Linked DNA regions of Homo sapiens: regions 2, 3, 4, 5, 6 and 7 are each linked to region 1. Evidence: promoter capture Hi-C in 16 types of primary human blood cells and fetal thymus (Javierre and others, 2016). All regions are on one chromosome and are shown on one strand. The core of a region is centred on a gene start or on the middle of the fragment in contact, and the rest is flanking DNA. Distances in the headings are between cores, read along the strand shown.

The links. Contacts are between HindIII fragments. The CHiCAGO score rates a contact against its expected background, and 5 or more counts as called.
Region 2: a fragment that was not itself captured here is called in contact with the fragment with the promoter of INPP1 in region 1 in 3 of 17 cell types (M0 macrophages, megakaryocytes and total B cells); the score reaches 5.7 in M0 macrophages.
Region 3: a contact is called between a fragment that was not itself captured here and the fragment with the promoter of INPP1 in region 1, in 1 of 17 cell types (M2 macrophages). The highest score is 6.3, in M2 macrophages.
Region 4: a contact is called between a fragment that was not itself captured here and the fragment with the promoter of INPP1 in region 1, in 1 of 17 cell types (endothelial precursors). The highest score is 5.2, in endothelial precursors.
Region 5: a contact is called between a fragment that was not itself captured here and the fragment with the promoter of INPP1 in region 1, in 1 of 17 cell types (activated CD4 T cells). The highest score is 5.6, in activated CD4 T cells.
Region 6: a fragment that was not itself captured here is called in contact with the fragment with the promoter of INPP1 in region 1 in 5 of 17 cell types (megakaryocytes, naive B cells, total B cells and 2 more); the score reaches 6.2 in megakaryocytes.
Region 7: a fragment that was not itself captured here is called in contact with the fragment with the promoter of INPP1 in region 1 in 1 of 17 cell types (megakaryocytes); the score reaches 5.2 in megakaryocytes.

What each region holds. Positions count from the first base shown.
Region 1 is chr2:190,341,440-190,345,117 of GRCh38, reverse strand. INPP1 (inositol polyphosphate-1-phosphatase) reads right to left here and starts at 1,529. Exons shown (of 7, transcript NM_001128928.2): 1 at 1,157-1,529. LOC124906109 (serine/arginine repetitive matrix protein 1) reads left to right here and starts at 69. Exons shown (of 1, transcript XM_047446773.1): 1 at 69-3,678. The coding sequence starts at 802. The coding sequence ends at 1,680. RefSeq lists silencers at 834-1,163, 1,234-1,543. The HindIII fragment of the contact is 2,404 bases long and covers 1-2,272 here.
Region 2 is chr2:190,654,143-190,657,911 of GRCh38, reverse strand. NAB1 (NGFI-A binding protein 1) reads right to left here. Exons shown (of 10, transcript NM_005966.4): 3 at 1,759-1,935. Among named protein-coding and RNA genes, the nearest start is that of NAB1, 6.9 kb to the right of the region's middle. The HindIII fragment of the contact is 180 bases long and covers 1,471-1,650 here.
Region 3 is chr2:189,833,880-189,837,543 of GRCh38, reverse strand. The region is part of intron 5 of PMS1 (PMS1 homolog 1, mismatch repair system component); the gene reads right to left. Among named protein-coding and RNA genes, the nearest start is that of PMS1, 51 kb to the right of the region's middle. The HindIII fragment of the contact is 2,100 bases long and covers 1,109-3,208 here.
Region 4 is chr2:190,757,268-190,761,158 of GRCh38, reverse strand. It overlaps LOC124907946 (a long non-coding RNA gene), which reads left to right and starts at 658. Exons shown (of 2, transcript XR_007087780.1): 1 at 658-1,067. RefSeq lists an enhancer at 151-1,350. The HindIII fragment of the contact is 868 bases long and covers 1,343-2,210 here.
Region 5 is chr2:190,822,062-190,826,124 of GRCh38, reverse strand. No RefSeq gene overlaps it. Among named protein-coding and RNA genes, the nearest start is that of GLS, 57 kb to the left of the region's middle. The HindIII fragment of the contact is 2,144 bases long and covers 1,728-3,871 here.
Region 6 is chr2:190,083,208-190,087,150 of GRCh38, reverse strand. It overlaps a transcript of AKAP19 not described here. Among named protein-coding and RNA genes, the nearest start is that of MSTN, 22 kb to the right of the region's middle. The HindIII fragment of the contact is 958 bases long and covers 1,782-2,739 here.
Region 7 is chr2:190,628,000-190,631,704 of GRCh38, reverse strand. The region is part of intron 4 of NEMP2-DT (NEMP2 divergent transcript); the gene reads right to left. It also overlaps a transcript of NEMP2 not described here. Among named protein-coding and RNA genes, the nearest start is that of NAB1, 19 kb to the left of the region's middle. The HindIII fragment of the contact is 653 bases long and covers 1,568-2,220 here.

The sequences.
Region 1 (3,678 bases), core at 280-2,779:
ACATAAGAATGGAAACAAATATCTGTATTGAAAAAATGAATTCTTCCATTGCCTTTATTTTTTCCCTTATGTTCTCTATTTTAAAAGGTAAGAATGAGATCACTTAGCTAATTCACCAATCAAGAGTAGTTCAGTGGATTACTTTCATCCTTATACTATTATCAAGTTGAGCAGGGCTGATCCTTATCAACTTTTCTGGCTTCAAAGCTAGGAATCAGTGTAAAAGGGCTAAAAAATCTTTTACTCAACAGATGGGATCCACTTAAGTGGTCTGTCCATACTTTTAACCCACTGTTCTTTTGAAGTGAACACCATCATACAGTGGGCAAACTTCTGCTTATTCAACACTTTAAAAATACCTTTAAAATGAGAAATCTCCAAAAAACAAGCCGTGGTTTCTTATAAGTGTTTTTCACAGATGTACTAAAGTAAGCGTTTCCTTTCACACTCTTTGCGCCTAACCGTCTACATGATAGGGCCAAACCCAGGTTAAATATTTTTTTCCAGCTACCACTCTGGACACACCAACTAATTATGCACACCTCACAAAACCACCTTTCAAAATGCAGAGAGAATTAACAGCAAGGAAGTAAAGATTTTTCTAAATATAGTCCCATCATATTTATTTCACACTCATCAAGTAGGTCACTGGAGGTAGCTGGCAGCTAGGGACACTCAGATGCATCTCTCAAAGCCAAGGCTGAGACCAAGGGGTCACTGACAGCTGCGCCATCTACCTGTTGCAGCTGGGCCACTGCTCTGGACAACTGTCAGATCAGCTTCTTCGTCCTACAAATACTAATGACTGGATTTTTAAAATCGTTGTTTGCCACCCTTTCTTCCCGCCCCCCAACCCCATCGGGCCGCTCGGGCAGGGCCAAGGGCGCCGCGGGACTCACGAGCTCCCCTCCGCGCTGGCTGCAGCGGCGATGCCGGGCATGCCTGGCCGGGCCCGGCCGGGGGCGGCCTCGCTGCCGGGGCAGGGACCTCGCAGGCCGGCGCGCAGAGGCGAGGAACCCTCCCGGCGCCATCGACTCACCTACCCGCGGAGAGGCGACGGCGCGCGCCGCTCACCAGCCCGGGCCCCAGATCCAAGGAGGAGGGGCAGCGGCGCGGGGACCCTGTGGTGGGTGTCGTAAGGAGGAAAACGTGTTACCTAAGCCGGGGATGAGGACAGAGCAGGAGGCAGCAGCCTTTCCCTCGAGAAACGGAAGCGGCGGGGAGCAGGAGGAGGAGGAGGCGCGGCCCGGGCGCGAGGTTAGGCGAGGGGCGCTGGGCGTGCGGCCGCAGGCGCGGCCAGAGGACGAGGGTTGGGGAGGACGGCGGAGGTCACGCGAGCGAAGGCGAAGCCCCGGCGACGCACGGCCCCGCTTGGCTCGGCACCGGATCCGAGCTTGGCCTCAGCCAGGCCGCCGCCCCCGGCTTTCCCGCGGGACCGCGGCGTGGAAACGCGCGCTGCCGCCTCGGGGCTCCCGGGACGCGCGGGCCCCCCACGCCTGCCCGAGCCGGGCGTCCGCGACGTCACAAGTGGAGCGCGATGATTCAGAGGGAGGGCCAGGAAGGGAAGGGCTCTGGGGTCAGCTTGGCCACGGCTGCTGTTTCCTTGTCGCCGCCCACGAATTCACTTTTAAATCTTCCTCCTCCATTCATCTGTACTCTCATAGGGGACTGCGGGTTTGACAGATGGGTTGGCAGCTGTGAAGATGGACTTCCTGCCAGTGGTATCCGGGTCCCACTGTTCTAATGGAAATGTCAGGTGTACTGGATGTTCCTCAAGACACAGCAGTGTCTCTGGGCCTTGCCTCTTAAGGAGTGGGCCTCGGGCCACCTGGACAGGAAGCGCATCAAGGGTGGGGAACTTATCTCTCTCCAGCCTTTGGTGCTGTGATACTCAGTGTACCTTAAGGATGGTTTGGGTTGAACCTAGGTAGGAATGGGTGTTGGTGGGCGGGGTGGGGGTGGGGGGAATAGAAACCTTAAAAGGGCAACACAAAGTTTTGAATAGAAGAGGCCAAGCAGCCTCGCCCAGAAGCTGATGTTTGTGAATGTACTGGGCCTTCTAAAGCGGCGCTTCACACACCTTTTCACTTCTTGGCACAGGTAGGAAAGGATGATATTACAAGGGTCAAAATGGGGGTAAACAGAAGAGGCTGCTCCTGCAGAAGGCTTCCTGCAGAAGCCCTTGCACTTGGAGGGCTGGGAAGACCCATGCTGTATCTGCATCCCTGTCATTCGTTTCACGGCATCCAGTTGGGAAGCTCTGCTTAAAGCTTTGTCTGGCACGTTTTCTTAGCTACATTTTTCCACTCCAGCTGAGACTGCCTCACTGAGTTGTCAACACTTGGTCTTCTTCAGCAGTGAGGAACCAACAAGACAGGAGGCTGGGTCAATACTCAACTTGGCAAACTCCAGGAAATGGTGCTTAAAACGTTTGGCTTCTTGAATGGAATTCATGGTACTGCTCCCAGCCTGCACCTGGGTTCTCCAACTTGAGACAATTTCTCCCCGCATCCCCCCACCCTTCCCTGGCTTTCACTCACTAGCAAGTGGGCTGCTTCTACTTTCTTTCTCACATTCATTTCTTAGGTCCATTCTCAGAGCGGTTAGGATTACTGTTTAATTAGCCTCATAATCATATCTATGATGGCAAAATCAAGAAACAATTTAAACATGATTCTTAAAAGTAAGGAGATAAATACCAGAGACATAGAAGGTGAAAGAATTTGCCTCTAGGAAGCAGGAATTTAAATTTGGGGAAGACAGGGTGGAGCAAGGGATATAAATCTAGTCCATTTTTCTTTTCTTTTCTTTTCTTTTTTTTTTATTTTTAAGATAGAGTCTCACTCTGTCGCCCAGGCTGGAGTGCAGTGGCATGATCTTGGCTCACTGCAACCTCTGCCTCCTTCGTTCAAGCGATTCTCCCACCTCAGCCTCCCTAGTAACTGGGATTACAAGTGACTGCCACTATGCCCAGCTAATTTTGTATTTTTAGTAGAGACGAGGTTTCACCATGTTGGCCAGGCTGGTCTCGAACTCCTGACCTCAGGGGATCCGCCCAGCTCAGCCTCCCAAAGTGCTAGGATTCCAGGCGTGAGCCACTGCACCTGGCGGAATCTAGTCCATTTTCCACTTTGCTACCACACATCTGCAGGGTTTCTTGCTTGCTTAAAAGCTTTCATTGGCTCCCAATCTCTGATAATATCAAGAGCAAGTTCCTGAACAACTCATTCAAGACCCATCACCCCTCGCATCTGTCAACTCTGCCCCTTGAATATTACACCTCATTTTACTACACCACATCTAGTTCCCTGAATATGCAAACAGATTTCATACATTTGCACCTTTATACATGTTATTGCTTTTGCCTGGGAGAGTATTCTCTTGCTGCTATAATAATAGCTAATGACACTGTGCTAAGTACTTTCTGTGATTTATAACTGTTAATTCTTACATCAACCCTATGGTAAATGTTACTGTTATCTCCATTTTATAAACAAGAAAACTAAGACTTAAAGAGTTTAAGTGATTTGCAGAAATATGTAGTATTTGGTGAGGCTAAATTTGAACCCAGCAATCTGACTCCAGGACTAACATAATATTACCTATTCATCCTTCTAAAATGTTTCCCAGACACTAAATTTGAACAGGATTAAAAGATTTAAATGTTTTTAAGTCTTA
Region 2 (3,769 bases), core at 311-2,810, 310 kb before region 1:
GAAGGCTAAAAGAATATGTGCATCAGAGAAAAATGGAAGACCCACTCTCAACTCTGACAGTATGCAGCAATAGTTAACTGGGACGTCCCTGAAAGCCAAGAAGTCACTGAACTTGGGACTTTTGTTTTATGCCACCAATCAGAATGCTACACAAAATTCTAGTCTCAGTCACTCCAAGCCAGGAGAATGGGTGTCCCTACCACTCTAAGCACTGACTACCGGAAGTCCCATCTCCTGGAACCTCTGTGTCATCCACATCTGTTTTGACTTCCGCAAATTTTATGTCTCTTTCTTTGCAAGGGCTAGTATGGGCATAACCAGGTTACCTGATGACTTCCCAAAAGACAACAAAGGCTGAATTAGGGCCCAGTAGCTTCTACTAAAACCCAGGAAATCACCTGGGGTGCTTTTGAAAAATACAGTTTCCCAGGTGCCTGAGATGCATCTCAGGAGACTTCCATGATTAGGCAAATATGACACACTGCACAAGATTCCTACTTAATAAATCCTCCGGGCACCACAAACTCCTACAGGTACTGTGATGACCCAGGTAATTCTTTAGGTCAACCTTCACATTCATGCCACCTCAGTCCTCTGGATAAAAACGTTCTTGCATCTTCTAAATCACCTAAAGGAGGCTCTGCCTGTCCTCCCACTCCAGGGAGAATCTATCATCCACCTGGGCACTAACTCACAAAAACAGAGCTCTCAGGAGTTACAGACCCAAGTTTAGAGCTATATTAAACTACACTATACCAAATAGAAGGGCTGCTATAAAGTGTTGGAGGTGGAAGAAAGGACATTTACTTTCCTATCATACACCTCGTGCAATTCCTCCATAGGCTTTCAACGCAATACAGAAAAAAAAAGTACATGTGTAATGTGTATATACATACACATGATCAAAATAGACTGTGGAAGACACAGAAGCTCCAAGACATGGGGCTTCTCAGTAGTACACACACTATCTTTTTTTAATAAGAGGACTGTAACTTTGCAAGGTTTACAGGGTGATCAATTAACTCAGCATATGTGCTCCTCACATTATGGAATAGAGCAGAGATTACATGAGGAAATCTGGAAAAATACTTTTAAATCTTTTTATGAGCAATAAGAAAAAATATATGTTAGACAAATACAAAAGAGAAACTTAAGAACTAAAAGACTCAAGCTTATATTTTATTCTTCTGAGATAAGGCAATGATTTTAGAAAATAATTTTCAAGTTTTATCCTTTCTCATCTTTACCCACTTAAAAAAAAAATGAAACCCCCTAGTTCTTAAGAGAAAGCCCTCTGCATGGGTAAGAAAGTAGTTATGAATATAATATCTCCATAAAGACTGATAGGACCAAGTCTACATTTGCAAAGCCAAGATAACAGATGCAACATAACTAAGTAACCAATTCGGTCCCTGGAGGCTTTCTAGAGGCCCACACTTACTACTGGAAAAGGAGTTCTCCTCCTAAGCTTTTGCTTTAAGAGAATGTTTCAGTTTCCTTCCAAAGCCGGCTGTGATAATTTAAACACCCACCCCTTCATACATGAACTTGATGTGATTTGAAAGAAAACTTTTACAAGATTTTCTGTTTTCATAAAATCTATAACCATTAATGATTCAACATGAAGGTCAAATAAGTCAAAAGAAAGCTTCTACCTGCCTCTCTCCAATCTGAAGTAAATATAAAATGGGTCCTTAACACGTTATATACAGGTAGCTTAGAGTATTGTAAATCCACTCAGCTGAAAACTACTGTTACCTGGGCTTTTCAAGATATCCTGGAACGACCACTCGGAGTCTGACTTTTCAATGAATTCCACAGTTAAGAGAAACCAGTTAACTGCATTCAAAAGCTAACTCGGAGGCCTTGCTGCCAATGTACAGCAACTTCCACTTCCACTTCCATCAGCTTAAATGTTCCTCCCCCTGCTCAGTCCTATAAAAAGAATCCCAATGATGTTAGGGGAAGAGGAATTAAACAATGCATTAATTTAAGACCATTTGTTGTTGTTATTCACTGATCTTTTAAACGGTAATCATTTGTTCCAAAACTTTTTTTAAAATTCACTTTGGCTCCTTACAGGGTAGCATCAGTCACCTGCCAGATTCCAACTGTGCTAAGTGAAGCAGGGAGCTAGTCTGGCCCACAAAACTACCGGTCAACTCCTGTTTCGCTATGGAAAACAAAATTTCCCTGACAGTCTCCAAGCTGGGATGTGAGGATTTTTTGATAGGACAGAGGGCTTTAATTGTCACTAGAGAAAAGAAGAACCATTCCTTCAAACCTGACTCAGGCCAGCTTGTTTTCTGGGCTCACCATTCTATCAAAACTCTGGGCCTCTCTCTCATTAATCTGTCTGCTGCATGGTATCACTCCTTGAGATGCTCTTCACCTTACTTTGGTAATGCTATATTATTTGTTTTTCCTTCTTTCACCTATTATATTCTAAGAATTCTCCAAATTTTTATATTACATCTCTTTTCTATTGTGTGTCCATAATTTTCTTTTGATGATCTCACCCATTCCCAGGCTTTAATTATCACTATAGGCAGATGACCTCCAAATCTGTATTTGTAGCTTGGACAAGAGCCATGGAGTCACTCCAAGTGTTCTCAAATCCAAATACACACAAAGCACCAACTGCTGAGTGAAAAAGATGCCTCTCACACACGTCTACTTTGCAAATGAAGGTAAATAGACACTTCTGTTATTCAGTAAAACTCACTTAACAGTATAGCTGAATTTTTGTTTTGTCTTTACATGTATTCTCAAAAAACAAATACTAAAAGTAGTCATAAATATTTGCAAGTTTTTATTTAAAAAGCTATCCTCACACCTGAAAAGTTCAGAACCATCAGCCCAAACTGTTCTTCTGAACTGTAATTTGGCATTCCACCTGGGCATTGTCAAAACCTCAAATTTGATGTGTCCAAAATCAAGTACATTCTCTCATTTTCTGCCCTTCTTCCAGATTCCCAAGTCTACTCTTTCCAACTCTCTTAGTTCTTTCAGTTGCACCATTGGTCTTTCAGTTTCCCGGATTTAAGTAAGTTTGGATTCCATTTTTGCTTTTTCTTCTTTCTTCCTCAAATCTACATGTCCTTAGGCTACACCACCACTTCTTTCTCTGCCTCAAAAGCACCAAATTCTAGTGTTCATTGCTTCTTGCCCCAATTTTGAAAAAAGCTCCTTCACCTTCAATAGATCCCACACTGCAATGCCAAGTTTACAGATTTGCGAACTTCTCCACCAGTGCAGAGAAAGAAATCCAAACTACTCATATAGGCATCCCAGACCCAAGCCTATCTTTCCAGCCTTCTCTCTGTTCCTTAACATGCCCATATACTTGTGCCAAGCAGATACACTAGGCATTCCTCAAATATGCCTTCCACTTCCCTGCCCCTGTGCCAGGCATCCTCTCTCCCTCCAACCTTCACAGCCTTTCCCAAAATGTCTTTCCCACTACCCCTGGCTGCAGCTGTCATCTCCCTTCTCTGAACCCCGCAACACTTTGTCTCTCTTACATTTTGAACTTATTCAAATAACACCAACAACTAAGCCAGTTCTGGGGAACAGAGGAAAGACAGTCCTTCATGGAGAGTCAGTTAAGAGCAAGGAGAGACAAGAAGCAGAGACTTAAACAATGTGGTAAATGCTGTGCAGCTGTGAAGGAGTCATGGCACAAGGAAGGCAACCTGCCTGGCTCTGCAGAACAAGTCACTGTTAGGTTATAAGCACCCCAAGGGTAGGAATTAGGTTTCATTACTCT
Region 3 (3,664 bases), core at 909-3,408, 510 kb after region 1:
CAGCTAATAATTTAAGGAACAATGTTCAAAATTAAAGGAAGTAAATAAGGTTCTGAATAATCTGCAATTACAGGAAATGAAATGTCCCCTGCTTCATACTTTCCACATCAGAAGTTCCTTATGACAAAGAATAGCTGAACCATAAAAACTTATTCACAAGGCTAAGGTGGGAGGATCACTTGAGGTCCGGAGTTCAATACCAGACTGGGCAACATAGTGTGACCCTGTTTCTATAAAAAAAAAATAAAAAATTAGCTGGGCATGGTGGCACATGCCTGTAGTCCCAGCTACTCAGGAGGCTGAGGTGGGAGTGGCTCACCCTGCACTCCAGCTTGGGTGACAGAGCAAGACCCCCTCCCTAAAAAGAAAAAAAAAAAAACACCAAACTTATTCACAAAAAGTGTACCTCTTTAAAGGAATGCTAACTCTCTGATATTGACATTTTTAAAATAAAGCATTCAAGGAAATATTTCAAAAAACTAATGTTTTAAAATTCCTGCACTGAATATAGCTAAAAAGCCTGCAGTGTTACTAATGTAAACATCATCTTGTTTATTTTAGTTTATATTAGATGCCTTAGATACAGATATAAATCTTAGCTGCTGATTAATGCAAGGATGCTATTTCACTGCCTGACCTGCTGAATAGTTAGTATACACAACCGTAAAAAGATCACTTCAGGAAATCGGTCCTAGAAAAAGCTGTGAAACATGAGAACTATGCAATGTGATTTCACTTTAAAGTAAACATGCTAGGAGTCTGGGAGCATTATTTCACACTAGGCAATTTTTATTGCATCAGATCGAGGGGCTAATTTAAGAGCATTTTCTAAACTAGTTACACTTGGGCTAGCAATAAATAATAGCGGTCTGCCAACAAGTAAAATCTTCTCATTGGGCAACTAAGATTCATTTTCAAAACAGGACCCATCACTAAAAAACTAAACTATAAAATGTGATGAATAAGAACTGGGAATACTGGGAATCCAGAATACAGTATTCAGTTTGCTTTCTCTACCGTTTCATCAATTCTATGTTATTTTCAAAAACAGAGATTTTCTTTTCACTTCCTGAAGGTTTTTGTAAATCTTGCCCTTAGGCCGAAAGCTTAACATGTGCTAAAAATACACACAAACCTCCATATGTTTTCTATCTAGGTCACACAAAGTTGGAGCACCTGGATGTGCCAACTAAGAATCTGACTCTAGTCAGTATGATGACAGTGCAAAAACACCTCAAAAATATATTATTACATGCACACCATCTTAGGTTTGAAGTTAGCCAAATATATCTTGCCCCTAATTCCTACCTCACTGACATACGCTACTTGAAGAAAATGAAGTTAGATGAGAATACTCGATATTTAATTAGTAAACCTCAATTGTTTGTAAAGGCAATTTGTGATAAAGAGAAATGTAGGCTGCACACAGATGATGCATAGTTAAGTGAATAGTACAATGCTAAAACTGCTTGAGCAAAGTCAACTCCTTCTAAATAAAGAGGATATATTATTGGCCTAGACTGCAGCCAAAATTCTTGCAAATTGTAGGCACAGATGTACTAAGCTCATATTTGGATTTTTTTTTTTCCACCAAACAAGAAGCAGCACCAATGAATTTTTTTTTTTTTTTTTTTTTTGAGACAGGCTAGAGTACAGTGGTGTGATCATAGTTGACAGCAGCCTCAGCCTCCTGGACTCAAGGATTCTCCTGCCTCAGCCTCCCGATTAGCTGGGACTACAGGTGCACACTACCACGCCCAGCTAATTTTTTTGTACGTTTTGAAGAGAAAGGGTTTCACCATGTTGCTTAGGCTGGTCTTGAACTCCTGGACTCAAGCGATCCTCCCACCTTGGGCTCCCAAAGTGCTGGGATTACAGGTGTGAGCCACCATACCCAGGCAAATTTCTTAAGTACCATAAGTTTACTTCTAAGATCTTACAAGTTACTATAAATAGATCTATATCTATTATTATTTACTCCTGCGTATGTACTTGCACTGACTCTGACTCCAAAAAGTACAGAGGCACAAACACAATATTTAAAAGGTTGTTTTATTTCCCACATTGGCAACACAGGAACAATATGAGCCACAGCAGCTTACCACTAAGACACTGCTAAATGTTTTGAATTCAGTATAAAATTATAGATTATTCCATCACAGTATCAATACTACTGTTAAAAGAACAAACCACATTCTACTGACATAATAAACATTAATATGAATTGATTATTGCTAAGCAGCCTCAAACTTTCAAAAATGATTGTCTTGGTAAAATTTATGCAGTATAAATGAGTTCTAAAATCTCTTACACTTATTTAATTTTATATTCTTTTCTTGAAAGAGAACATGCATAATTATTTTTCCTGAAGGTTGCAAAGAAATTAATAGACATTTTACCTAAAGAAGGGGCAGTTTATAGGAGCTAGGCAGATGAAAGATAAAGAAAAGAATAATTTTTTCATTCTACCTTTTCATACATTTTTGGGTTTTCAACCATGTAAAGGTATGATCTTTTAAAAAATTAAATAATAAGCTGGGCATGTTGGTTCAGGCCTGTAATCCCAGCACTTTGGGAGGCTGAGGCAGGAGTTCAAGACCAGCCTGGGCAACACAGTGAGACCCTGTCTCTACAAAAAATTAAAAAATTAGCCAGTTATGGTGGCATGCACCTGTGTTCCTTGCTACTCAGAAGGCTGAGGTAGGAGGATCACTTGAGCCCACGAGTTTGAGGCTGAAGTGAGCTATGATCATGCCTCTGCACTCAAGCCTGGGCAACAGAGTGAGACCCTGTCTCTAAAAATAAAATGAAATAGAATAAAACATTAATAAAAATGTAAAGGTATAAAGTTAATCTCTGCATAACTTTCAAAGGGATATTGTTGAGACTCATTTCTTTGCAGTCTTTAAAAACAAGAAAGATTATTTCCAATTCGTAATCAAATCTTATTTACATCGGAAATATTTTTCTTGCCTAGACCCTCTTCTCCATTCCTTGTGTAACTTGCCAGACAACGAGATCATTTTCCACATTCTTAACAACAATTAAACATAATTTAGTCCATCCTCCAACTGCAATGAGAATTATCTTATTTTGTTAGTCTCCTACTGAAATGTCTCATTTAGTTCCCTCTTGGTCACTTCAACAAGAAGTACACATTCCCATGTAAGATACACAAGGTCCTTCAGAATCTGGCTCCAAGCAAGCTTCGTAGCCTCATCTCATTTCTTAGACAAGCTTTCTCTGACCTCTGATGACTCCCTGACATTGCACATGCTGTTCTCCCTGCTTTGAATACCTCTGCCCACATAGTCTTTCCGAAGAACCAGTCTTAAGGCCACTTCCTCTAATAATCCTTTTTGACTCTAATCAGATTTTAAACAATATTCACATCAATAACAATAGCAATTAACCTCTACTGAGTACTTATGGAGCAGGCGCTGTGCTGTGAATGCTCTCATTTAAAAACCTTACTCTGTAAGGTAGGTACTATTATTCCATTTTAAAGAGACAAAGAAATTGAAGCCTAGACACGTAATGTAAGCCAGTTAGTGACAATATGTAAGGTCAGAACTGGAAACTATGCTCCAGAGTCTATTTTATTGATATGTAGTTAAGTAAGTTCTTCCTAAGGATGAAAGGAAGATTGTGGTGGTCTCTGAAA
Region 4 (3,891 bases), core at 527-3,026, 420 kb before region 1:
CAGTGCCGGCCCACCGGCGCTGCACTCGATTTCTCACCGGGCCTTAGCTGCCTTCCCGCGGGGCAGGGCTCGGGACCTGCAGCCCGCCATGCCTGAGCCTCCGACCCCCTCCGTGGGCTCCTGTGCGGCCCGAGCCTCCTTGACGAGCGCCACCCCCTGCTCCATGGCGCCCAGTCCCATCGACCACCCAAGGGCTGAGGAGTGCGGGCGAACAACGCGGGACTGGCAGGCAGCTCCATCTATCTGCAGCCCCGGTGCGGGATCCACGAGGTGAAGCCATCTGGGCTCCTGAGTCTGGTGGGGACGTGGAGAACCTTTATGTCTAGCTCAGGGATTGTAAATACACCAATCAGCACTCTGTATCTAGCTCAAGGTTTGTAAAAACACCAATCAGCACCCTGTGTCTAGCTTAGGGTTTGTGAATGCACCAATCGACACTCTGTATCTAGCTACTCTGGTGAGGCCTTGGAGAACCTTTGTGTCCACACTCTGTATCTAGCTAATCTGGTGTGGACTTAGAGAACCTTTCTGTCTAGCTCAGGGATTGTAAAGGCACCAATCAGCGCCCTGTCAAAACAGACCACTGGGCTCTACCAATCAGCAGGAAGTGGGTGGGGCCAGATAAGAGAATAAAACCAGGCTGCCTGAGCTAGTAGTGGCAACCAGCTTGCGTCCGTTTCCATGTTGTGGGAGATTTGTTCTTTCGCTCTTTGTGGTAAATCTTGCTACTGCTCACTCTTTGAGTCCACACTGCTTTTATGAGCTGTAACACTCACCGGGAAGGTCTGCAGCTTCAATCCTGAAGCCAGCGAGGCCACCAGCCCACCGGGAGGAACGAACAACTCCAGACGCACCGCCTTAAGAGCTGTAACACTCACCGCGAAGGTCTGCAGCTTCACTCCTGAGCCAGCGAGACCACGAACCCACCAGAAGAAAGAAACTCCGAACACATCCGAACACCAGAAGGAACAAACTCCAGACGCGCCAACTGTAACACTCACCGCGAGGATCCGTGGCTTCATTCTTGAAGTCAGTGAGACCAAGAACCCACCAATTCCGGACACACTGTGAGTCAGGATCAGTCTTATTATAGCTAATTAGAGCAACCCCATTGCTAAAGAGTTTAGAGCCTGGGTCAGACTTCATGGTAGCAAAGCAATGTTTTATTGTAATAGTGTAATTAGGAATGTGTGGCAATATTTTAACCCCTCCTCCCAAGAGTTCCACAATGCTTTCTTAACATGTTTATAAATATTTGCTTTTGTGCCATTTTAGGGGAGCTTTCCGTACAAACATTTGGCTTTTAATGAGTCATCCACACTCTGATTCATACCCATAAGCTTCCTGCTTTGTTATCAGTGAATATTGGGCTCAGTAACTGCCTTACTTTTATAATTTACATGAATGAATATGGAAAAGGTGGTGGAGGTAGAAAGACATATTCAGGTAAATATAAAAACACCCTGGTTTCTTTACAAGAGATTGACAAATACGGCCCAATACCCTATCATTTAAAGTAAGTGCCAGAATTGTGATGGATTTGTGTTTGGCCTTAAAAAAAAATAAAAATAAAAATAAAAACAAAAACACTTGGATAATTCTACCTGATGTTACATTTTTCTTTTTTTTTTTCTTTTCTTTTTTTTTTTTTTTTTTTGAGATGGAGTTTTCCTCTGTCACCCAGGCTGGAGTGCAGTGACGTGACCTCAGCTCGCTGCAACCTCTGCCTCCCAGATTCAAGCAATTCTCTCTCAAATTGCTCAGAAGCTGAGCAATTCTGCCTCAGCTTCCCAAATAGCTGGGATTACAGGTGCGTGCCACCAGGCTCAGCTAATTTTTGTATTTTTAGTAGAGATGGGGTTTCACCATGTTGGCCAGGCTGGTCTTGAACTCCCGACCTCAGGTGATACGCCCGCCTCGGCCTCCCAAAGTGCTGGGATTACAGGCATGAGCCACTGCGCCCAGCCTGATGTTCCATTTTTCTAATCACCAAGTGTATTTATTAGCTAAGGGTATCCCAGAAATTAAATTACCAACATAAAATTTTACTTGTGCTATTATAATTTAGCTATTAAATCCTAAAATTATCAACTGAAAGCTACTGGAAAAATAAATACTTCTCTTTCTTTTCTCCATATTGAAAGTAAAGAGAATGAGGATCCTTAGCTAAGATTTTAATTAAATCTTTTCTGAGCCAGAATTGCAAAGCTTTTCTTTGTATAAATAAGGACTCGAGTTATAAAGCATAGAACTAGCAATGAGTCTATCTTGGTCCATTTGGATTGCTATAAAGGAGTACCTGAGGCTGGGTAATTTATAAAGAAAAGACGTTTATTCGACACATGATTCTGCAGGATGTACAAGAAGCATGGCACCAGCATCTGCTCTTGGTGAAAACTTCAGGTGGCTTTGACTCCTGGTGGAAGAAGGGAAGTCTAGCTTGTGCAGAGCTCCCATGGCCAGAGAAGGAAGGGGGGTTTGAGGAGGTGCCAGGCTCTTTGAATAGAGCGAGAACTCACTCATTACCAAGAGAAGGCACCAAGCCATTCATGAGGGATACACCCCTGTGACCCAAACCTTGCCCCCCTTCCAACATTGGGGCTTAAATTTCAATGTGATGTTTAGGGGTACAAACATCCAAACCACAGCAGAGAAATACAGAGTTCTGTATTTCTATTCCCAAAGGGCAAAATTTGGGAGGTGAATGGGTCTATATGTGTGTTGGGGGGAAGAAGTTAATATGAAGAAAAGAAACTAAAGTGCTTTACATAATAATGAGAATTACAGATTAAAAAATCTGTAATCTTTCCCTAAAAAGGGAAAGAAGTACCATGCAAATTATGAGGTAAGTAGACTATATGACTTATTTATTTTTATTAGGTTAGAGCAAGAATTGCAAACTCAAGGTCCTGACTCCTTGAATTGCACTCTATGGACCCAGTCATACTTCATTTGCATATTATATATTAAATGCTTTGGCATGATCTTTGCTCCCCCTTACATCCTCAAAACACTCTTTTTCCATTTTTCTTAAAATATATGTTCCTCTTTGTCTATATTTTATTTTTCCAACTTTGAAAAGGACTTACACATAAAAATGGTATCACTTTCTTCTTAACTGTAAGAAAAATGGTCTCAGCCATACATTGATGAATGGCAGCTGTCATTCAGCCTCAGTGTGAAGGAGACAACAATGAGTGGTGAGGACTGTAATAAAATGGAAAGCACATGCCCATCCAAAAGTGAGCATTCACTTCTAGGAACTAGTAAAAATGGTAATAGCCAGATCTTTCTATTTTTTCACAAGAAGCCTGAAAGTATTTAAATATTTTATGACTAATTCAAATGCTTTAAAAATAAGCAATTTGATTCTAGGAGGCCAAACTAGTTGCTATCTATGATTTAAACCATAGTGTCTTTCAGAATTAATGTATGTCCTTGGCGGGTGTGTGTGTGTGTGTGTGTGTGTGATCCCAAAACACCAATAATTACCAGTGAAAAATTTAGGAGATTAAATATGTGTACTTTAATCCACATTGGGGGAAGAGAGAGATATAAAAGGTGCTGAGAACCTTGAAGTGGTGCCCCTCCTGATCTGCCTTCTACCTCTTCAACATACGTGCTGTGCACCATGAAAGACTTGAAGTGCAATGGCAATCTGTGATCCTTTGTGGAAACCTTTCCCTAATTTGCCCCAGAGTGAATGTTTCACACTTGGATTCACATTTGCTGAGAGAGGCGGAAAAATCTTAGGGACAATTAGAACAATAATAACAACATTCATATTATTATTCAATGACAGCAACATTCATATTCATTCTTTCATTCAGCAAATATTTATTGCACACTTGCTATGTGCTAGAACTATAAAATGGCAATGATGTGTTAGGT
Region 5 (4,063 bases), core at 1,550-4,049, 480 kb before region 1:
ATCTCCTGACCTTGTGATCTGCCCACCTCCACCTCCCAAAGTGCTGGGATCACAGGCATGAGCCACCATGCCCGGCCAATCATTTGCTCTTAAATGTAAAAAATCTTACAGAATCTATTAAAAGAGGATGAGAATTAACAAAGAAGTTTAATAGGTACATCATTCCAGTAATTCCTTATCACAAACTGGGTATCCAACAATTCAATTCAATTCTGACACCAACTACCTGGAATTAGTGCAGACGCTACAAGTTAAGAGCTCAATCCCATAATACTACCTTCATTTTTAGATATTAACCCCAAGTGGGGTCCTAGGGTGCCCAAATTTCTTCCCAGCCAACTACAAATTTGGAGGTTCCTATGACCAGTCTCCCCTCATGCTTGATAATTTGCTAGAACTAGTCACAAAATTCAGGAGTGCTGTACTTACAATTACAGTTTTATTATAAAGGATACAACTCAGGAACAGCCAAATGGAAGAGATGCACAGGACAAGGTATGTGAATGGGAGTATAGGGCTTTCATGTCCTCTCCAGGAGCAAAAGTCTCTTGGTACACCAATGCATTCTCAAATTCAGAAGCTCCCCAAACCTCATTTTTCAAGGTTTTACCGGGGCTTCATTTTGTAGGCATGATTGATTAAATCATTGGCCACATGACTTAATTCAATCTCTAGTGCCCCTCCCCTTCCCAGAGGTTGAAGGGTGGGGCTGAAAGCCCTAACCCTCTAATCATGTCCTGATCAGCCCTTTCCTTGAAACTATCTGAGTGTCCACCATGAGTTACCTTGTTAGCATAAACTCAGGTATAGTTAGGAATAATGAAAGAACTCCTATACCTCAGGAAATCCCAAGGACTTTTGAGCTCTGTACCAGGAACCAGGGGCAAAGACCAAATATATTTTTGTATTATACCACAGGTAAGGAATTCATTAAAAAACTACTAGAATTAATAAACAAATTTAGTAGGGTTGCAGGATACAAGATCAATATACAAAAATCAGTTGTATTTTTATACACTAGCCATGAACGATGTGAAAATAAAATTAAGGAAACGATTTCATTACAATTTCATCAATAACAATAAAATACTTAGGTATAAATTTAACAAAATTAAGTGTATGGCGTGTACACAGAAAACAACAAAATATTGTTGAAAGAAACTAAAGATCCAAATAAATGTAAAGACACTCCACTTTAATGGATCAGAAGACTTATTGTTGTTAAAATGGCAAAACTCTCCAAATTTTCTACAGATTCAATGCAATTCTTATTAATATCCCAACTGGTTTTTTTGCCTACATTGACAAGCTTGTCCTAAAATTCAGAAATTCAAGAGACCCAGAATAGCCAAAGCAATCTTAAGAAGAACAAAGTTGGGATCAGGCATGGTGGCTCATGCCTGTAATTTCAGCACTTTGGGAGGCTGAGGTGGGTGGATCACCTGAGGTCAGGAGTTCGAGACCAACCAGACCAACATGGTGAAACCCCATCTCTACTAAATACAAAAATTAGCCAGGTGTGGTGGCACATGCCTGTAATCCCAGCTACTTGGGAGGCTGAGGCAGGAAAATCACTTGAACCCATGAGGTGGAGGGAGGTTGCAGTGAGCCAAGATTGCGCCATTGCACTCCAGGCTGGGCAACAAGAGCGAAAACTCCATCAAAAAAAAAAAAAGAACAAAGTTGGAGGAGTCACACTTCTTGATTTCAAAACATACCACAAAGCTTCAGTAATCAAGACAGTGTGGCACAAGGATAGAAATATGGATCAGTGGAATAGAAGTGAGAGCCCAGAAATAAACCCTTACATGGTCAATTCATTTTTGACAAGCATACCAAGACAATCCAATGGAGGAAAGAACAGACTTTTCAACAAATGGCATGGAAACAACTAGATATCCAAATGCAAAAGAAAGAAATTGGACTCCTACCTCACACCATATTAATAGCAAGGAATTACCTTGCCTTGATATTTTTGAAAATGCTACGTATGTTGGCAAAAGAAACAATTTGCACCTCAAACACATTTTGTGAATGAGCAATTTTTTTAGTTTTTGGCATCCCTGAGAAGTGCTAACATTATCCAATGTGAGTAACACTGGGCCAATTCTTTGACTTTTTTTTTTTTTTTTGAGACAGTCTCACTCTGTCACTGAGGCTGGAGTGCAGTGGCGCAATCTCGGCTCACTGCAACCTCCGCCTCCCAGGTTCAAGCAATTCTCCTGCCTCAGCCTCCTGAGTAGCTGGGATTACAGGTGCACACCACCATGCCCGGCTAATTTTTTTTGTACTTTTAGTAGAGATGGGGTTTCACCATGTTGGTCAGGCTGTTCTTGAACTCCTGACCTCGTGATCTGCCTGCCTTGGCCTCCCAAAGTGCTGGGATTACAGGCATGAGCCACCGCACCCGGCAATTCTTTGACTTCTATAGACTCTTCATCTTGTGTGTGAATAGAAGTAGGCACCCTAGGTAATCTCTATGATCTCCTCTTGTTCCAAATTGTTGCAACTAGCACCTTTGTATGCTGGTCATCATTCTGATAAATGAGCCAGCAGGAGAACTGGGGGATGTTAGAATCACCTAAGGGAACATCTTAGAAACAGATATACTAGGTCTCACTCCCTCAAATTCTAGTTGGGTGGGTAGGCCTTGGAAATTGGCATTTTAGAGGAGCATGCCACACAGTCAAGAAACACTGTCAGGTCCAGCCAGGCACGGTGGTTCACGTCTGTAATCCCAGCACTTTGGGAGACCGAGGTAGGTGGATCGCGAGGTCAGGAGTTCGAGACCAGCCTGGCCAACATAGTGAAACCCTGTCTCTACTAAAAATACAAAAATTAGCTGGGTGTGGTGGCACGCACCTGTAGTCTCAGCTACTCAAGAGGTTGAAGGCGGGAGAATCGCTTGAACCCAGGAGGCAGAGGTTGCAGTGAGCTGAGACTAGGCCATTGCACTCCAGCCTGGGTGACAGAATGAGACTCCGTCTCAAAAAAAAAAAAAAAAAAAAAAAAAAAGAAAGAAACACTGTCAGACATCCTTGGAAAACAGCCACCCCTAGAAATCAGGGACCCTTTTTCTCTCTTGTGCCTACAAAGGTAAGATAGACCTCCCAATTGGCATCTATTACTTCCATGTCCAACCCGTCTTGGCTAAACCTCTTTCTTTTAATCTTTTTAGAAGTTAGAAGTTAGTTAATATCTCCATCAATTTGCTTCTCTTTATATGCCAAATACATAGAGTGAATGGTTGGAATATTAAAAGATCCTGCTAATTCCACTTAAGCCATATGGGCATTTCTGATCAAAGAATAGCTGCAATTTAACTTTTCACCTCTGAATGGGAGTCACAGGAGATGAGGGAGGTGATCTGATCTGTCACCTAGGTTTACAAATCTGTTATATGACACTGCAGTTCTGTTCCTTCTGGATAGAAATTTGACTCTGAGGAAGCATGGCACTTTGGAAAGAGGTGTCATAAAGAGTTAAAAGGAAGTAAGGAGAGATACCAGTGATAATATTTCCAATGGCTAAAATAGCTTTCAAGCCTTAGGCCAGGTAGCCTTGTTCATAGGTCAGAAAAAGGCCTTACCAGAAGTTACTTACCTTAAAATGAGATTGTTTCATCTGAGCATTCCTCAAATTTGAAGAGAAGGGATTCAAGTTCTTATTGTCCTACTCGTATACCTTAACTGTAACTCACATGTTTACTATGCCCAAGGCACTGTTCTAAGAGCTTTAGCTACACAAAGATGAGAACACTGAGACAGAAAGGCTACCTAGATTATGAAGAGTATAAAGCTGGAAAGGCACTGGATCAGGATGTGAATCCAGGCAACAAGGCACAGAGCCCAGGAAATTTAAACACTAAGCTTCTCAGTCTTGTTCATCAAAGAGTAAACTATGAAACAGAATACAATACACTTCCCATTCCTGGCTTAGCAAAATCCTTAACCACAGCAGGGTAATATCGTTCAAATTTGTCTTTAATGAAAAGAGCTTAAGTATTGGAGAATACTTTAGGAGAACTGGTGAAGCATAATGCTAAATTTGTTCTATTAACTGA
Region 6 (3,943 bases), core at 1,011-3,510, 260 kb after region 1:
ATTTCCCAAGCCAGCAACTAATATATAATGCTATTTCTTCCATAGCCAGAATACTTAGATCTGAAAATGAAAGTGTAAAAGTATTGGTGGTTCCATTATTATTCCTAATGACCTACTCACATAACTTTTGTTTCCAACCTCACAATGTTGTGCTCTTAGTTTCCATGGAAGGAATACTTTTTCCAGGAAACACTAGAAGGGTTCCTTTGAATGGAAGCTGAGACTGCCACATCAGCCACTTTGAGGTCTTCAAGGCACTGAACCAACAAGGAAAGAAAGGGATTACTGTATTCGCTGGGACAATTAATCCTAATCATAAAGTGGGAAAAGTGGTGGTACTACAAAACAGAGGGAAGACCATGTCTCAAAGGCAAGACATTCTCTGAGCAACTCCTTTCATATCCATATCTGAGCAATTCCTTCCATATCCATGGTAAAATTTACAAGATTAGAGCAAACCAAGCCAAGCAAGAACCACAATGGTTCAGATATTTCAGGAATGAAGGTTCAGGTCACTCTGACTGATAAATAATAACACCTAGCTAAAATGATAACTGAGCAAAGGGAGCATGGGAAGGGAAGTGGAAGAGGGAGTTACAAATACCTACTATGGCCTCATAAATTGTGTAGACTGCAACCATCGTGCATATTTTCTAATGTTTCTCTTTCCCCATCTTCCTTGAGGTCTTTGAGGATTTGAACCTAATTATGGAATAGGTCAGGGTCTGGAAGTGATAAGTAGTGAGAATTAACATTTAGGAGATTCGTCATCTTCCTGCAAATAAACCACCTCAGGTGAAATTATTACAGGTTATCAGATGGAAGAGGAGGACTGCTCCTACTAACAACTAAGACTCAGTGGAGTTTGTTAATTCAGGCAACAATTGGTGATATTTTAAGGAATGTTTTGTCATTACATTGTACAAATTATCAGTATCCTATTTTCCATTGATAGTGAGGCCATTACTGATTTCAAGTCTAATCTATGTGTATGTTAACATCCGCAATGTGCTTATACTATGTGATAGATTTCTTTGGAGGAAGGGAAACACAAGTGAAGGATTTGTAGTTGGATTCATTAGAACCTACCCAAATATTTCCATTCACAGGATCCCACTCTACTAACCTATGCCTAGAAAGGCTGCACTGTAATGCTGAAAGCTGTAGAAGCAAATTTAGGTTTGTTTTTTGGCTATTTCAGCCCCACTGGTACAAGAAACAAGACAGTCTTTTAGGTAGTTTCTAGTGCAAGCAGAACCTTTCCCATGGCCTTCGTGCTCATAATTTCCACTATAATATTTTATTGCACCAGTTACTTCATCTCTTAAGCCTTGCTGCTGAGAGGCACCTGGTTACCAGCAACAAAAGCTGATCATTTAAGAAATGTTTTGTCACTGTATGGTATGGATGATCAGTGTCCTATTTTCCATTGACAGTGAGGTCATTACCAATTTCAAATCTAATCTATGTATACATTAACATCTACAACGTGCTCATACTATGTGATAAGTTGTTCAGGGGGAAGGGGAACACAAATGAAGGAAAGAAATGGCCCATGGCCTCAAGTACGTTGTGATCTTATAATCAGTAGCTAAAAGAGTTCTGCTAAACTTCAGAGAGGAAATGGGATTCTTTCAGCTGCCTCATTCCCTCTTCACTAGATGATCAGTGAACGCTATATTTGTTAAGCTGAATTAGAGACGAGAGAAACTATTTCTTGGAGTGCTAAGTACTGATCTCGTATTTCTCACAGAAGCGGTGTTAAAAATGACAGTTAAGCTTTCACACTAATTCTTCAAGGCCTATTGAACCCAAAATGTTACTGAAATACACTGTTATTTGCATATAAAATATTGTAAATATCTGGCAAAATTATGAATAGGCTTTAATTGAATAACCAGGAAACCTAATTACCATCCAGAGATTGTTCCTATGGTAAAATATATTTCATGTCTAATCTAATATGAGATTGAAAATATCCATTTCCTTTCCCTCCCCTCAAGCACATATTCCCTACCCTGGCATCTATGGTTAAAAGGGAGTCCTCCTCTCCTGGCCACTTCCCAATAATGCCATGTGGTCTGGCAATGAAGGAATCACCCCTGACTAGGTGTAAAGAGAAGGGTGGTTTGGGAAATGGTTGGCAGCAGGGGCAGAAAGTAGAAGATGGGCTTTACAGCCAGGCTGACTAGGAAAACTAGAAAAGTTTTCCCATGGCCTTTTCAATGCACTATATGCATCTGACCCCAACAGGAGGCCACCAGAGGCAGCATTCCCTCCATCTGTCCCCAGATAAAACCCTTTTCAAGAATACCTTTTACTTCTTTCATAATCAATATTTTACAGAATGTTAAGTAACTTGTCAAAGTCCATTTAGCAAGAAAATATCAAAGCCAAGGTTGAAAGTTAGGTTATCGTACTCCCGTGTCCCTTCCTGTATGTTTTTCAGTACTTTCTGGGAAAATACAATCACCTTAAAAATAGTCGACAAGTGGGTTAGAAGAAGGGATGTCAGTTAATTAAATGACTGAATCTCAGTTGTTTAGTCTGTAGACTGTAATCTGATTAAAGGAATTTTATTGTGTTTTTTGACTACGTGAATACATTAAAGAGTTATATAATACAGCCTCAAAAAAATAGTCAATAAGGGGCATTTTCCACCAATTTATCATGATAGATAAACTATACTTCCCATCAGTGGTCTCAAACCAGCCAACACATTAAAATCACCCAGAAGCTTTAAAATTAACTGAGCTCTAGCTGGGCAAGGTGGCTCATGCCTGTAATCCCAGCACTTTGGGAGGCTGAGGTGGGTGGATCACTTGAGGTGAGGAATTCGAAACCAGCCTGGCCAACATGGTAAAACCCTGTCTCTACTAAAAGTACAAAAATTAGCCAGGCATGGTGGTGGGCGCCTGTAATCCCAGGTACGTGGGAGGCTGAGGCAGAAGAATTCCTTGAGCCCAGGAGGCAGAGGTTGCAGTGAGCAGAGACCATGCCACTGCACTCTAGCCTGGGCAACAGAGCCAGACTCTGTCTCAGAAAAAAAAAAAAAAAAAACCTGAGCTCTACTCCAGACCAATTAAATTAGACTCTCTGGGGGTAGGGCTTTGTGCAAATTTAACCATTTGACTCTAATGTATGCCCAAGGTTCAGAAGCTCTGGTATAATATATTATAAAGAAAATAGGCTTCGGAGTCTCAAACCTAGGCTTGAAGTCAAGATCCGTAACTTGCTCGCTGTGTGACTTCAACAAGCAAGGTACTTAATTGTTTTAAGAGTGAGAAAGAAAAGAAACCTTCTCTGAGGAATGTAAGCCTCCTCTAAATTATCAGGCCCAAAGAGGCATGGGAGTAAGGCAGCAGTGACATCCCACTTTCCCTGCTTGAGCTCATCACCTCTTGAAGCTTCTTGCTATGTGGACTCTAGACTGACTGTCGCTGCAAATAGCTGTAAGTTAACCTAACAATGTTGCATGATGGACACCATAACTCACGCCCTAGAGTTCAACAATGTATAGCTAATCACTAATCAATGTCATTTCTGTAAACCAATGGGAATTCCTGAAAAACAACTTTGTATCAGCCCACCGTCTTCCTTTTTTGCCTATAAAAACCTACTTTTCACAAAGGTCAAATGGAACTCTTATACAAGGTTATCAGGTCTGAGTCTTCTGGGCAGCTGTCCTCATCTTGGCTCAAGTAAACTCATTAAAATTATATTTAGTGCCTCAGCTTCTTCCTTTAGGTTGACAAGAGAGTAGATTTTTAAAATTTTATTTTGAGACAGGATCTCTGTCGCCCAGCTTGGAGAGTAGCACGATCTCGGCTCACTGCAGCCTCCACCTCCCAGGCATCGATCCTCCCACTTCAGCCTCCCAAATAGTTGGGACTACAGGTGCACACCACCACACCTGGCTAATTTTTGTATTTTTAGTAGAGAC
Region 7 (3,705 bases), core at 645-3,144, 290 kb before region 1:
GAGAAATTAATTACAAAAATAAAAGTCATGACTATAACAATAAAGTGGTTTTGTGGATTAGGTTATACAGTATTGATCTATATTATCCAAATATTCTGCAATCAACATGTGTTAATATATAATCTGAAAGAAGTTGCTTTTATAAGTCTTATTCTAAATTACCAAATTAGCTTTAAAATATAACATATGCTCTTTGGTACATATTCAAAATAAAAGTAGTAAAATATTAATATAAAGTTTTTTTTACATTGATCTTATAAAACCACTTGATCTTGTAACTGGTCTCTGACAATGTCTAAGGTTTGTTTCCTTGACCAAAAGGGCTTTGCTGTACTGTCAACACTGAGAGCCTAAATAAAAATGCAACACGATTGTAGCAAAGTTGATGGTGTCCTGTAAGGCCCATTCCACACAACCAGCAAAGTGAAGCTATGTTGTGTGATCATCCTGCTGTTTTCTAATCTATTTCCTTTGGTTGGATATGTAAGCATCTTGGAAACAGTTTCTTCCCCATCTAGAACTCTGCAAGTCTCATACAACATCTTCAAATAATTTAAGTTGGTCATATCTTTACAATTCTTGAGATTTTTGTAGCTGATACGCTTGGCCTGTTGAAATATTAAACAGATAAAATCTGCAAAGTAGTATTATCATTTTTTATATTTGTTTTTCTGCTGTGTGACTCAGATCTTTTTTTTTTTTTAATTAGAAACAGGGTCTCACTATGTTGGCCAGGCTGGTCCCAAACTCCTGGCCTCAAGCAATCCTCCTGCCTCAGCCTCCCAAAGCACTACGACTACAGACATGAGCCACTGTACCTGGCCAATATTATGATTTCTCGAACAACACTGAGATTTAAACTGAGTGAAGTTAAATTAGAAAATTCTGTTACTAGTTCAAAAGGTTCATGAAAAAACGGAATTAAAAGATAAAAATAAAGTATATAAACTTCATTTCTCAACATAAACTCCAACAGGTTCAAGACATTTTTATAAGTGATAATAGCCATTTAGTCCATCCCTAAAGAACTGAGGGTTCTATGAAATTAACCAGGTCAATGTAGTCTTTTTCACATTATTAACTGAAAAAAAAAGATTTAAGGATTTTTTTAGGAAACAAAAAGTCAGAAGGAGCCGTATCAGGACTGTAAGGTGGATGCCTAATCATTTCACATCAAAACTCAAAGTATTGCCCTTGTCTGGCAGGGCAGGGTGTAATCCCAGCACTTTGGGAGGCTGAGGTGGGCAGATCACAAGGTCAGGAGTTTGAGGCTAGCCTGGCCAACATGGTGAAACCCCGTCTCTACTAAAAATACAAAAATTAGCTGGGCGTGGTGGTGCTGGCCTGTAATCCCAGCTACTCGGGAGGCTGAGGCAAGAGAATGGCTTGAACCCAGGAGGCAGAAGTTGCAGTGAGACGAGATTGCTCTGGGCAACAGAGCGAGACTCCATCTTAAAAACAAAAACAAAAATTGCCCTTGTCTGATGAGAGGAATGAATGAGCAGGAGCATTGTTGTGGTGGAGAACTCTTTGGTGAAGCTTTCCTGGGCATTTTTCTGCTAAAGCTTTGGCTTTCTCAAAACATGCTCATAATAAGCAAATGTTACTGTTCTTTGGCCCTCCAGAAAGTCAACAAGCAAAGTGCCTTGAGCATCCGAAAAAATCCTTCACCACGACCTTGGTTCTTGATGGTCTGCTTGTGCTTTGACTGAAGCACATCCCCCTCTTGGTAGCTATTGCTGTGATTGTGTTTTGTCTTTAGGATTGTACTGGCGAAGCCATGTTTTATTTCCTGTTACAGTTCTTTGAAGAAATGCTCTGAAATTGTTGATCCCACTTGTTTTAAAATTTCCGTCAAAAGCTCTCCTTTTGTCTGCAGCTGATCTGGGCACAACGGTTTTGACACGCATCAAGTGGAGAATTTGCTCAACTTTAATTTTTCAGTCAGAATTGTGTAAGTGGAACCAACTGAGATGTCTATGGTGTTGGCTATTGTTTCTGCTGTTAATCATTGGTCCTTTTCAATTAGGGCTCAAACAAGATGAGTTTTAACTCACAAATTGACGTGGATGGTCTGCTGCTCTAGGCTTCAGCTTTAACATTGTCTCACCTCTTCTTAAAATGAATTATTCTATTTATAAACTGCTTAGTTTTGGGGGGCATTGTCCCAATAAACTTTTCATTAAAAGTTAATGATTTCATCATTCTTCCAACCAAGCTTCACCAAAAATTTAATGTTTGTTCTTGCTTCAATTTTAGCAGAATTCACGTTGCTCTGATAAGGGACTCCTTACAAACTGATATCTTAGTGCCTCGAACTAGATCCTTTTCAGACATGTTATAACAAGTTAGTACAAGTTTATTTTGGTGCAAAAAATTTTTGACATCTATGCATAGTTTTTTCATAATACGTATTTCAATGAACTTTTTAAAGACCGCTTGTGTAATGTGTTTTACTTGTCTAAGTTCCCTACTAAATTGAAAGCTCATGGGAATCGGGCTGTGTCATGATGGCTTCCAAAACTTCAGCATTTGACCTGGTGCAGAGCATATAGCAGCTGCAAGATAAATCTGATGAATTGTTTTTTGAGGAGGAGTTAGTGAGCAGGGCCAGGCGCAGCTAGGACTGACGCTCTGCACAATTCTGGACCAAAAACATAGCTTTCACTATTTGGATATGTCATCTGTCTAATTCTGGGTTCTTAATTGAGTTTGAGATTCTTGAGATTTTGGATAGTTAAACTCAATGAAAGAATTATGATTGTGCTTTGTGGTCAGAAGCCTTATGGAGTCAACATCTGAGGAGAGGATTTTTGTTGCATGGAAGAGAAACTAACTTCAGGCCAGGCGAGGAAGTAGCACAATCTCCTGGGGGACTAGAACCAAGAGCCAGGAAGCTTCTGGGAAGCCGGGAAGCTGGCTTTTTCTCATGTCTATTTTTCTCACTGTAGATTTATTTTTCTTTCTCTCTCTCTTTCACTGCCTGCAGGATCAGCAGATCTGTTTTCACTACCTCAAGGTACACAGCCCCAAACACTGCCCATCCCCAGCTCCCCATGCACATCTTTCCTGTTGGAGAAACCAGGAGAGAGATGAGCATTTCTGTTCCAGTTCCGAACTCCCCAGAGAGATTCTGATGGGCCCAGCTTAGGTCAGGGGATAGTCTTCACTCAAGAGTTCCTGAGATAACAGAGACTGGAGTAGCAGGCATTGCAGAACTGATTTTATAAAGGAAGAACGTGTACCATAAATATTGCTAGTTAAGAGCATGTATACTGTTGAGTTCTACCTCCTCAGAAGTCTAAAAGGTTTCCTTCCTTTGAGGGTGAAGAAGCAGTAACAGGCGTCCTCCATCAGACCCCTCTCTGTGGGCACCTAGAACACTTCCCATTGACGTCTGCTTCAAGGGGAGGTCACTAAAAGTGCCCCACATGATGCAGCAGACATTTCGCTGGTCCCAGTGCCCTCCCCAAGACCTTCCAGATGGTGAAGTGTTAAGAGTCTAAAATGGAGTAAATGATCTGCAGAAATTCAGTGGTGTCAGAGGAGCCAGTCCAAAGTCACTCGGCTCTAAACGCTGCGATTCTATTATTTTAATGATGCCCAGGAACACAAAGAGGCACGACAGACCCAGAGGCAAGTGTGCAGCTGCCAGGGGAGCAGCTGGAGGGACTGCGGGGGGCTGCTGGCCGGCCAGTTCCCAGT